Linked DNA regions of Homo sapiens: regions 1 and 3 are each linked to region 2. Evidence: promoter capture Hi-C in 16 types of primary human blood cells and fetal thymus (Javierre and others, 2016). All regions are on one chromosome and are shown on one strand. The core of a region is centred on a gene start or on the middle of the fragment in contact, and the rest is flanking DNA. Distances in the headings are between cores, read along the strand shown.

The links. The method cuts DNA at HindIII sites, captures the fragments that hold promoters and counts their contacts. A CHiCAGO score of 5 or more calls a contact.
Region 1: a contact is called between a fragment that was not itself captured here and the fragment with the promoter of LRRK1 in region 2, in 1 of 17 cell types (M2 macrophages). The highest score is 5.2, in M2 macrophages.
Region 3: a contact is called between a fragment that was not itself captured here and the fragment with the promoter of LRRK1 in region 2, in 1 of 17 cell types (endothelial precursors). The highest score is 8.9, in endothelial precursors.

Annotation. Positions count from the first base shown.
Region 1 is chr15:101,236,963-101,239,662 of GRCh38, reverse strand. All of the region lies in intron 1 of CHSY1 (chondroitin sulfate synthase 1), which reads left to right. Among named protein-coding and RNA genes, the nearest start is that of CHSY1, 14 kb to the left of the region's middle. The HindIII fragment of the contact is 3,097 bases long and covers 1-2,700 here.
Region 2 is chr15:100,918,026-100,920,725 of GRCh38, reverse strand. LRRK1 (leucine rich repeat kinase 1) reads right to left here and starts at 1,369. Exons shown (of 34, transcript NM_024652.6): 1 at 1,275-1,369. ALDH1A3-AS1 (ALDH1A3 antisense RNA 1) reads left to right here and starts at 1,443. Exons shown (of 2, transcript NR_135827.1): 1 at 1,443-1,922. RefSeq lists enhancers at 327-918, 2,093-2,212, 2,263-2,352, 2,105-2,697 and silencers at 1,133-1,722, 2,483-2,700. The HindIII fragment of the contact is 4,524 bases long and covers 1-2,700 here.
Region 3 is chr15:100,658,877-100,661,576 of GRCh38, reverse strand. No RefSeq gene overlaps it. Among named protein-coding and RNA genes, the nearest start is that of ASB7, 58 kb to the right of the region's middle. The HindIII fragment of the contact is 6,586 bases long and covers 1-2,700 here.

The DNA.
Region 1 (2,700 bases), core at 107-2,606, 320 kb before region 2:
TCCACGTGGAGCCCACACTTTCCTGTTCTTTCACTACCTTATTTGATTTGCAAACTCTTGTCTTCCTTAATAATAAGTCATACTTACATAGTGCCAGGCAGGCTTCTAAGCTGTTTACAGAGAGCTCATTTAACCCTCACAACAACCCCCGTTTACAGATAAGGAAACTGAGGCACAGAGTAACTTGTCCCAAGTGGAGCTGGAGTTCTCGCCCCCATGGCCTGATTCCAGAGCCAGCTCTTGCGGTGATGCTGTAGATTCGCCTCCTTAGTTGGTTGTTCTTTGAAGGCAGGAATTGTCTCGCCCACCCCATCTCCCAAATAACATTACAGTGTTTTAGTATTTTCATGGCTTCCTAGGTTGAAAATTTCTCAAAGTACAAGATAGAAATGATTTCTGACCTTTTGCAAACACGTGTGGCACCATTAAGTTACTTATTGTACATGAGTGGGCAGTATTCAGTGCACACATTTAGTGACCTCTATTATGTGCCAAGCACTGAAATTATTTACATTTTCAAAGAATTGTTGCGACTGCCAAATGAAAAACATTTCTCTATAAAGAGAGCATTATCAGGGGCTCCTCGACTTGAATGGGGGGTCATTGCACTATAATTTTGTCCTTACTAACTTCCCAAGGCTGGAGGAGTTCTGAGAAGTTATCTCCCCTCCATATGTCACCGCATCAGAAGACTCTGTATAGCTTGTCACACATTCACACATTGTCGCATTTGCAAAAGGACTTGTCCCTTTGTAGGTGGGATTGGTTTTTCTTTAAATTAATTTCCACATCTCTACGTTTATTCTACATCCTTTTTCTTCAGGAGCATATCCTTTGTGAAAATGAAGTGCAGTACCTAGAACAGTATCTGTTAATAACCGTGGAATGAATGTCTGGGCTGAATTTGTTTTTTGTTGTTATTCTTGTTCTTTGTTAATGAGTTATTTAAGTGGCGTAAGAATACAGGTCCATTTTAAATCCATAGGCACTAAGGGAAAACATTAACAACACCATCTTATATCCATTCTGTGATTTTGACATCTCAGAAATTAGGATGCATTTTATAGTTACCGGCGTCATGGGATTATGATTGGCAGTATTTTTTAAATTTGTTGATAGATAAAACAATGGTGCATCTTCCAGTTAACATCCTAAATGTGATGAAAAAATGTATATATTTAATCCTTGCACTTTTTGAGAGGCGTGTTGGCAGAAAGTCGAATTCCATTGAATTTTGCCTCTACTTGAAAGAGATACATTCGAAGTTGTTTTGTATTCCTCATATTTGGGTTTGGAAGAGAAATAAAAGCCAGTCATTTGTTTTCCAAGTGCTTCATTGTAAGTTCTTTTTAAAATTACAAAAGTAAATATTTAGAATCTCAGTTTTGCAAGATGAAAAAAGTTCTGGAAATGGATGGTGCCGATGGTTTCACAACACTGAATGCTGCTGAACTTTACATTTAGAAATGGTTAAGATGGTAAGTTTTATGTTATGTATATTTTATCACAATTTTTTTTAAAAAAAACAATATGATACTTATGCAGTTGTCCTTCAATATAGAGATGCATAGAATAAAAAGTGAAAGTCACCTTTGTCCACACACATTCCAGCTCCTCCCAATTTTCCTCCTTGTGTACCTCTTCCGCAGAGATTTGGTGTGTATCTTTTCAGATATTTCTCTCCTAAGACTTTCCCTTAAAGATGTGTGGGGGTTTCATTGATCCTTCAAGTAATTTTTCACTATAATAAATACACTTGTAACAGGTAAAATAAAAAATATTTGAAAGAACATCATTTGATAACTGCTTTTTTTATTTTAAGATTAAATTTACTATTTTATTTATTCTCCACGATACATTTTTCTTGGAAGTAGTCTGTATGAATGAATTATTATAGCCAAACAACTTTAGATCTGAATACAGAACGTGAAGAAAGTAGGAGGGAAAGTGCGATATGATAGCCTTCAATTAGCTGCTCAGCAGAAGCAGCCTTTACGTGGTTTCCTCGCAGTTGACCACTCATCTTCCCTCTGTCGATGGGCAACCGTTGTCTCTTACACCCTTTACGTGGTTTCCTCGCAGTTGACCACTCATCTTCCCTCTGTCGACGGGCAACCGTTGTCTCTTAAACCCTTTATGTGGTTTCCTCGCAATTGACCACTCATCTTCCCTCTGTTGATGGGCAACCGTTGTCTCTTAAACCCGGGTCTGGGCTGCTGCAGTAGTTTACTCAGTGGTCTTCCTGTGTCCACTCTGGCTTCCTTCGGCCTTCTTCTCCATTCCTAGGGAGTTCAAAATGTGTGGGCCTTAATCTTGTCTTCTGCCGCATTCCCTCTAGAGGCTTCCTGTGGCTCTTGCAACATAGAGGCCTGCATCTCTAGTGTACTCTGCCAGGCCTTGCACATTTGCCTCTGTTTTTTTTTTTTTTTTTTTTTTTTTTAGATGGAGTCTTGCTCTTTTGTCCAGGCTGGAGTGCAGTGGTGCGATCTCGGCTCATTGCAACCTCTGCCTCCCGGGTTCAAGCAATTCTTCTGCCTCAGCCTCCTGAGTAGCTGGGATTACAGGCACACGCCACCATGCCTGGCTAAATTTTGTATTTTTTTTTTTAGTAGAGATGGGGTTTCACCATGTTGGCCAGGCTGGTCTTGAACTCCTGACCTTGTGATCTGCCTGCCTCGGCCTCCTAAAGTGCTGGGATTA
Region 2 (2,700 bases), core at 120-2,619:
GGAGGAAGGGGGAACTGAAATCCTACAGTAAAGAGATGCTGGTACCCTGGACAAGGGGCAGGGTGGGGGGTGGGGGCATAAGAAAAAGGGGACAGATCAGGACACATTTTAGACATAGATTCAACAGACTGAATGTTTTTTATCTGAGGATCCGAGTTGACTGCGAGGTCACTGCCAGAGACATCGACTTTTGGGAGAGGGAAAGGTTTGGCTGACCGCAAAACCTCCTTTAGGAACAAATTAGGTGTGAGGTTAGTTTGTTATATTATTTTCTCTTTCAGGACATAGGCAAAGATGAAGAGAATCAAATCATAAAAGGCGTTTAATGTTAACATTTTCCAAAATTGTGCATGTTCTAGCTATCCCTTTAATGTCTGGGCATTTTGATACCCTGTGAGTGGCTGGCAAACTCTATCATTAGTGTACACGGTGAGAGGTTTGCTGAAAGCTATATGCCCCCGTTTCTCTACCTGTTGCAGGGGAAGTGTTCGTGGGAGAAAAACTTCGCGGCCTCATACTGTGAAGGGGTAGGTTGAGATGGCCACGGGGGTTCTCAGATTCTCCACCAGCGTCTCCTCGCTGACCCCGGCCTTCCTAGGCTTCCTTCCCGCGTCCCTGCCTGCCAGGAAGGTCCCCTGTAGCTTGCAGAGACCATGGTAGACAGAGCAGTTGTATCTGCGCCAGCCAGAGACCACCTGGGCAAGAAGCGTGACCCAGACATCGAGGAGGGTGAAGCCTCGCTGGGCCGCCCCGCAACCCCAGGAAGCCCCGGACCAGCGAGAGGCTCCCGGGCGGTCTCTTGCCGACACCCCGGCACGGGCTCACCCGCGCGCTCACACTCCGCCCGCTCCCCGCTAAGGGACTGGGTTCGCTCCAAAGGCAGAGGAAACCTATGGGCTCCCCGGCTCGTGTCTCCCGACTCGTGTCTCTTGCCTCCGCTTCCCAGCTTTCCCGACCCTGCCCGGACGGGGTTTCGGGGTTCCCTGCTCGGGCCCCGCGCGCTCCCCTCCCACAGGCTGGCTGGGCTCCGGGCGCGGCGGGAGGCAGCGGGGACGTGAGACCGGGGTCGCCCCACACGCCCTCCGCGCCCCTCGGGCCGCGGCCCCTGCGCAACGGCCCCCCGTGCCCGACCACGCGGCCGCCCGGAGCGCAGGGGCCCGCGGGCAGGCAGAGGCCGAGGCTCCCCGCGGGCGCCGGGCGCGGGCTCTGGGTTCCCCGGGCGGGGCCGGGAGGCAGCCAGGCCGCCGGGGGGCGCCGGCAGGAGCGGCGCTTACCTGAGGCGGCGGCGGGGCCGGGTGCGGGCGCTCCGGGACGCGGGGCCGGGCGGACACACTGGCGGGGCCGGGGCCTGGCCGTCCCACCGCCGTCTGCCCCCCGCGCCGGGGCCGGGCCCAGACGCACTTCCTCAATCCTGAGGCGGGCGGGCGGGGAGGGCGGCGCGAAGAGCGCGCAGAGCAAGGCCGCCGCCAGCTCTCCCAGGAACCGTCGCGAGGCGTCCCCTCGGCGGCCGCCTCAGTTTCCCTGGCCGTAAAACGCGGGCGATGGCGCTCGATGCCCCGGGAGACGCCGGGGTCCGCGGGCCCTTCCGGCACCGGGTCCTCCTTCAGGTTCGGGCACCCGGCTGCCTCCACGCGGGGCGAGCGCGGCGATGGGATCGGTCCGTGCTGCGCTCAGCCCCGCTTTCGCTATCCCTCTGCTCCAGGGGCAGCAAAATCAGCAGATGAGCCCCCAGCGCGCCTGCGGCCCACACACTGCGGCCGTAACAGTTAAACAGACGGGGAACATTCATGTGCGTAGAGCTCTTCACGGGGCGATACAGAAATGTGTCGTTCTAAAGCGTTAACGACCTGCAATTTGCATATCCTCCAACACATGGATTTTACTGATTCAATTATGGATGTGTGCAAAGAATCTGCTGCTCGGTGAGTCATTGTTAATTGTCGGCTTTGGGGGGAATACATAAAACGTGGAATATTGGCAATTTATCGTGTTTCGACCTTTTATAAAGGCGTCACCAGGCTGCTGAGGCTAATACAGAAACGCAGACCATAAAAAAGATCTGCGTCCACGCTGCAGGCGGGCCTCACGCTGAGCTCCCCGTGTCGACCCGGGGACAAAGCCTGCTCAGGAAGAGCAGAGGGTTCCACGCCCTGCAGGACCAGCGCCCTGGGCCCCTCTCCTGGAAAGTTATGACTCGCACGTTCCCAGGATTTAGCGCACATCTCCCCCACCCTCACTGCCATTTCACAGAACCGGGGCAGCCGCAGGGCTCCTGCAGGACCTCCCGGACGCCGCGGGGCCGTGTTCCCTTGAGCGGCTTCTTGGGTCCCTGGTTGGAGAGGGGACCACCGAGCAGCTTCGCTCTGCTCCTGGGAGGCTACTTCTGCCACTGGACGACTTTCCAAAAGGGTGAGCGCAGTTCTGCAATCCTGTTCTCACCCCTGAGGGCCTCACACCAGTTTGCAGGAGCCAGCAGTGTGATTGCCACCGACAAGTTCCCAACAATTTGCAGGGCGTGGTGTCCTCAGTGCTGAGAGAGCCCCGCGACGGCGGTGCAGCTCCTCCAGGGCGCGCAGCCCCGCCACCTGGCGCCACCGCGAGGGAGCGCAGGCCCAGGGCCCGGGCAGACGCTGGAGGGGACGCGGCAGGTGAAGATGGGGCACCTCCACTTCCCTTCTAAAGGAGCCTGGGAATAGGCTA
Region 3 (2,700 bases), core at 161-2,660, 260 kb after region 2:
ATTGAGTGGCTGGGAAAGGATTCGTAGGTGCCATGGTTTCTTTTACTGTTCAGGGGTTACGGGGTGGGTTGGTCAGGCTGCAGCCAGCTGGAGCTGGCAAGGTGTTTTCTATCTGCGATCGGCAATTGGGGCAATGCTACCCATGCTTCTTAGAGACACTTCATTGGCAGGCCGCCTCACGGGCAGTGCCAAGGCACATGCTGGCTGAGGCAGCTAGAGTCATCGTCTCTCCCACCCTGGAGCAGGCTAGGGCTGTCATTATTCACGTTTGGCACACATTATTATTTACAAGCCACCAAATGAGACTGAAGAACATTAACAGCAGGATAACAGAACTACAGGCTACTGGTTTTGTCTGTGCCCAACTGAAATTAAGTAGTTGCAAAAGATAATTGGAGACATGAAGGTCTCGATGTCGAGCCAGCTTGTAGTGTAGCCGGAGAGATTTGTAGTCTTTGTTCACATAACACATGCAGAACTATTCAAGGCCGGCCCATAAAATACAAAGACTCAGTTTCACGTGTGGGTTCTGAAAAATCACTGCATCTTTACTTACATCTCATGGATAAGCAGATAGGTGGCTTTTCTAACATCTCATAGTGACTGTAGGATTTCTTTCTTTTTCTTTTTTTACCTTGTCCTTTCTTTGCTACAAAGAGTCCAAATACCCTCACACAGTGGTTCTAAGTTGGGTCCACAGACCAACAGCACACACCTCACAGTCCAAATACCCTCACACAGTGGTTCTAAGTTGGGTCCACAGACCAACAGCACACACCTCACCTGGGTGCTTGTTAGACACGGAGATTATTATTTTTTATTTTTTGAGACGGAGCCTCACTTTGTCACCCAGCCTGGAGTGCCGTGGCACGATCTTGGTTCACTGCAACCTCCGCCTCCCGGGCTCAGGCAATTCTTGTGGCTCAGCCTCCTGAGTAGCTGGGACTACAAGCACATGCCACCACGCCTGGCTAATTTTTTTTTTTTTTTCTGCTTAGTAGAGATGGAGCTTCATCATGTTGGCCAAGTTGGTCTTGAACTCCTGACCTCAGGTGATCTGCCTGCCTCAGCCTCCCAAAGTGCTGGGATTACAGGCATGAGCCGCCATGCCCGGATAGACGTGGAGATTCTTAAGCCCCACCTGAGAACCGCTGCATCTGAAATTCTGGGGGTAGGACCCGCACTATTTTAAAAAGCGCTCCAGTGGGTACAGATGCTTGCTCACCTGCACTAATGCAGAGAGTACCGTAATTCCACACCCCAGGGATGGCACCGTAATTCCACACCCCAGGGATGGCACCGTAATTCCACACCCCAGGGATGGCACCGTAATTCTACACCCCAGGGATGGCACCGTAATTCCACACCCCAGGGATGGCGTACGTTTTGAATCTGGAAAGTAGAAGTCCCCGGCTCCGCACAGCCCCAGCCCTGATCTCCACCCAGCCCAATCTTCCCGTGCCAGCCCTGCTTCTGTCCTCTCGCCCACCATCTGGGCTCCCACGCGGGCTCCTTCCAAGTGCTGGCACAAATCTGGTCCTTCAGCATAGGTGCTCAAAAAGTATGTGTCGAATGAGCTAGCGGCACTCACCAGGGTCATTTCTAAACCCTCCTGGGATTTCGTGAACATGTGCAGTAAGGAACACCAGGGCAGAACCGAACGGGGGTTAGGCTTGAGTTAGAAGCACCGTGGGACTCCTCTCAGGGTCTGTATCACTTCCAGGGGATAGACTCTGACCTGAAAAATCTCTCAAAGTGCATGTCATGCAAAGATGAGCTTCTACTAAGCAGGCTTTTTATTACTGCCCACTAAAACACAAGGTGATTAGAGTACTTTTTAATTAAATAATTGTTAGATGGAGTAGGAAGTAATGGTATCGGTTAATCTCAGGGTAGGGTTTTTTTTTTTTGAACCCTCTAATAACTTCCTAAACATCAAGCATTTCCATGAAGCTAGCCAAAGTTACTTAATTATAGGCTTCATGAGTAAGTGTTTCTACAGAATTCTCAAAGGCTCCTCATATAACACACGGTTTGGATGTTTCCACGCGGAGCCTATATACATGCTTTTTAAAAATTTTTTTTAGAGACGGAGTCTCGCTCTGTCGCCCAGGCTGGAGTGCAGTGGCACGATCTCGGCTCACTTGCAACCTCCGCCTCGCGGGTTCTAGCAATTCTCCTGCCTCAGCCTCTGGAGTAGCTGGGACTATAGGCGCACACCGCCAAGCCCGGCTAATTTTTTGTATTTTAGTAGAGACAAGGTTTCACCGTGCTGCCCAGGCTGGTCTCGAACTCCTGAGCTCAGGCAATCCACCTGCCTCCGCCTCCCAAAGTGCTAGGATTACAGGTGTGAGCCACAGCGCCCGGCCTGTGCTTTTTTATCTCAAGGCACAAAGCTGTCCAGAAGTGCATGCCACGAGGACTTCAACACCTGGGAGCCAGCCCGGCTCACGGATGAGGCAGCAACCGAACTCAGGTGCCGGCATCCCCACCCTGCCCGGCCACCAGTCACTGCAGGGCCTGGCATCGGTTACATAGTGGCTCTCCTGGGGGTGGGGGCTCCTTCCAGGCAGGTGAGCACACCCTGGTGACCAGAATGTCACAGCTCATCACCAAGACACTCGACGTCGCTGTTGCATCCCCTCACAGCTGTGAGAGTCTCCCTTCAAAGGCCTTTCTGCAGAGGAAGCCAGCCTGGTT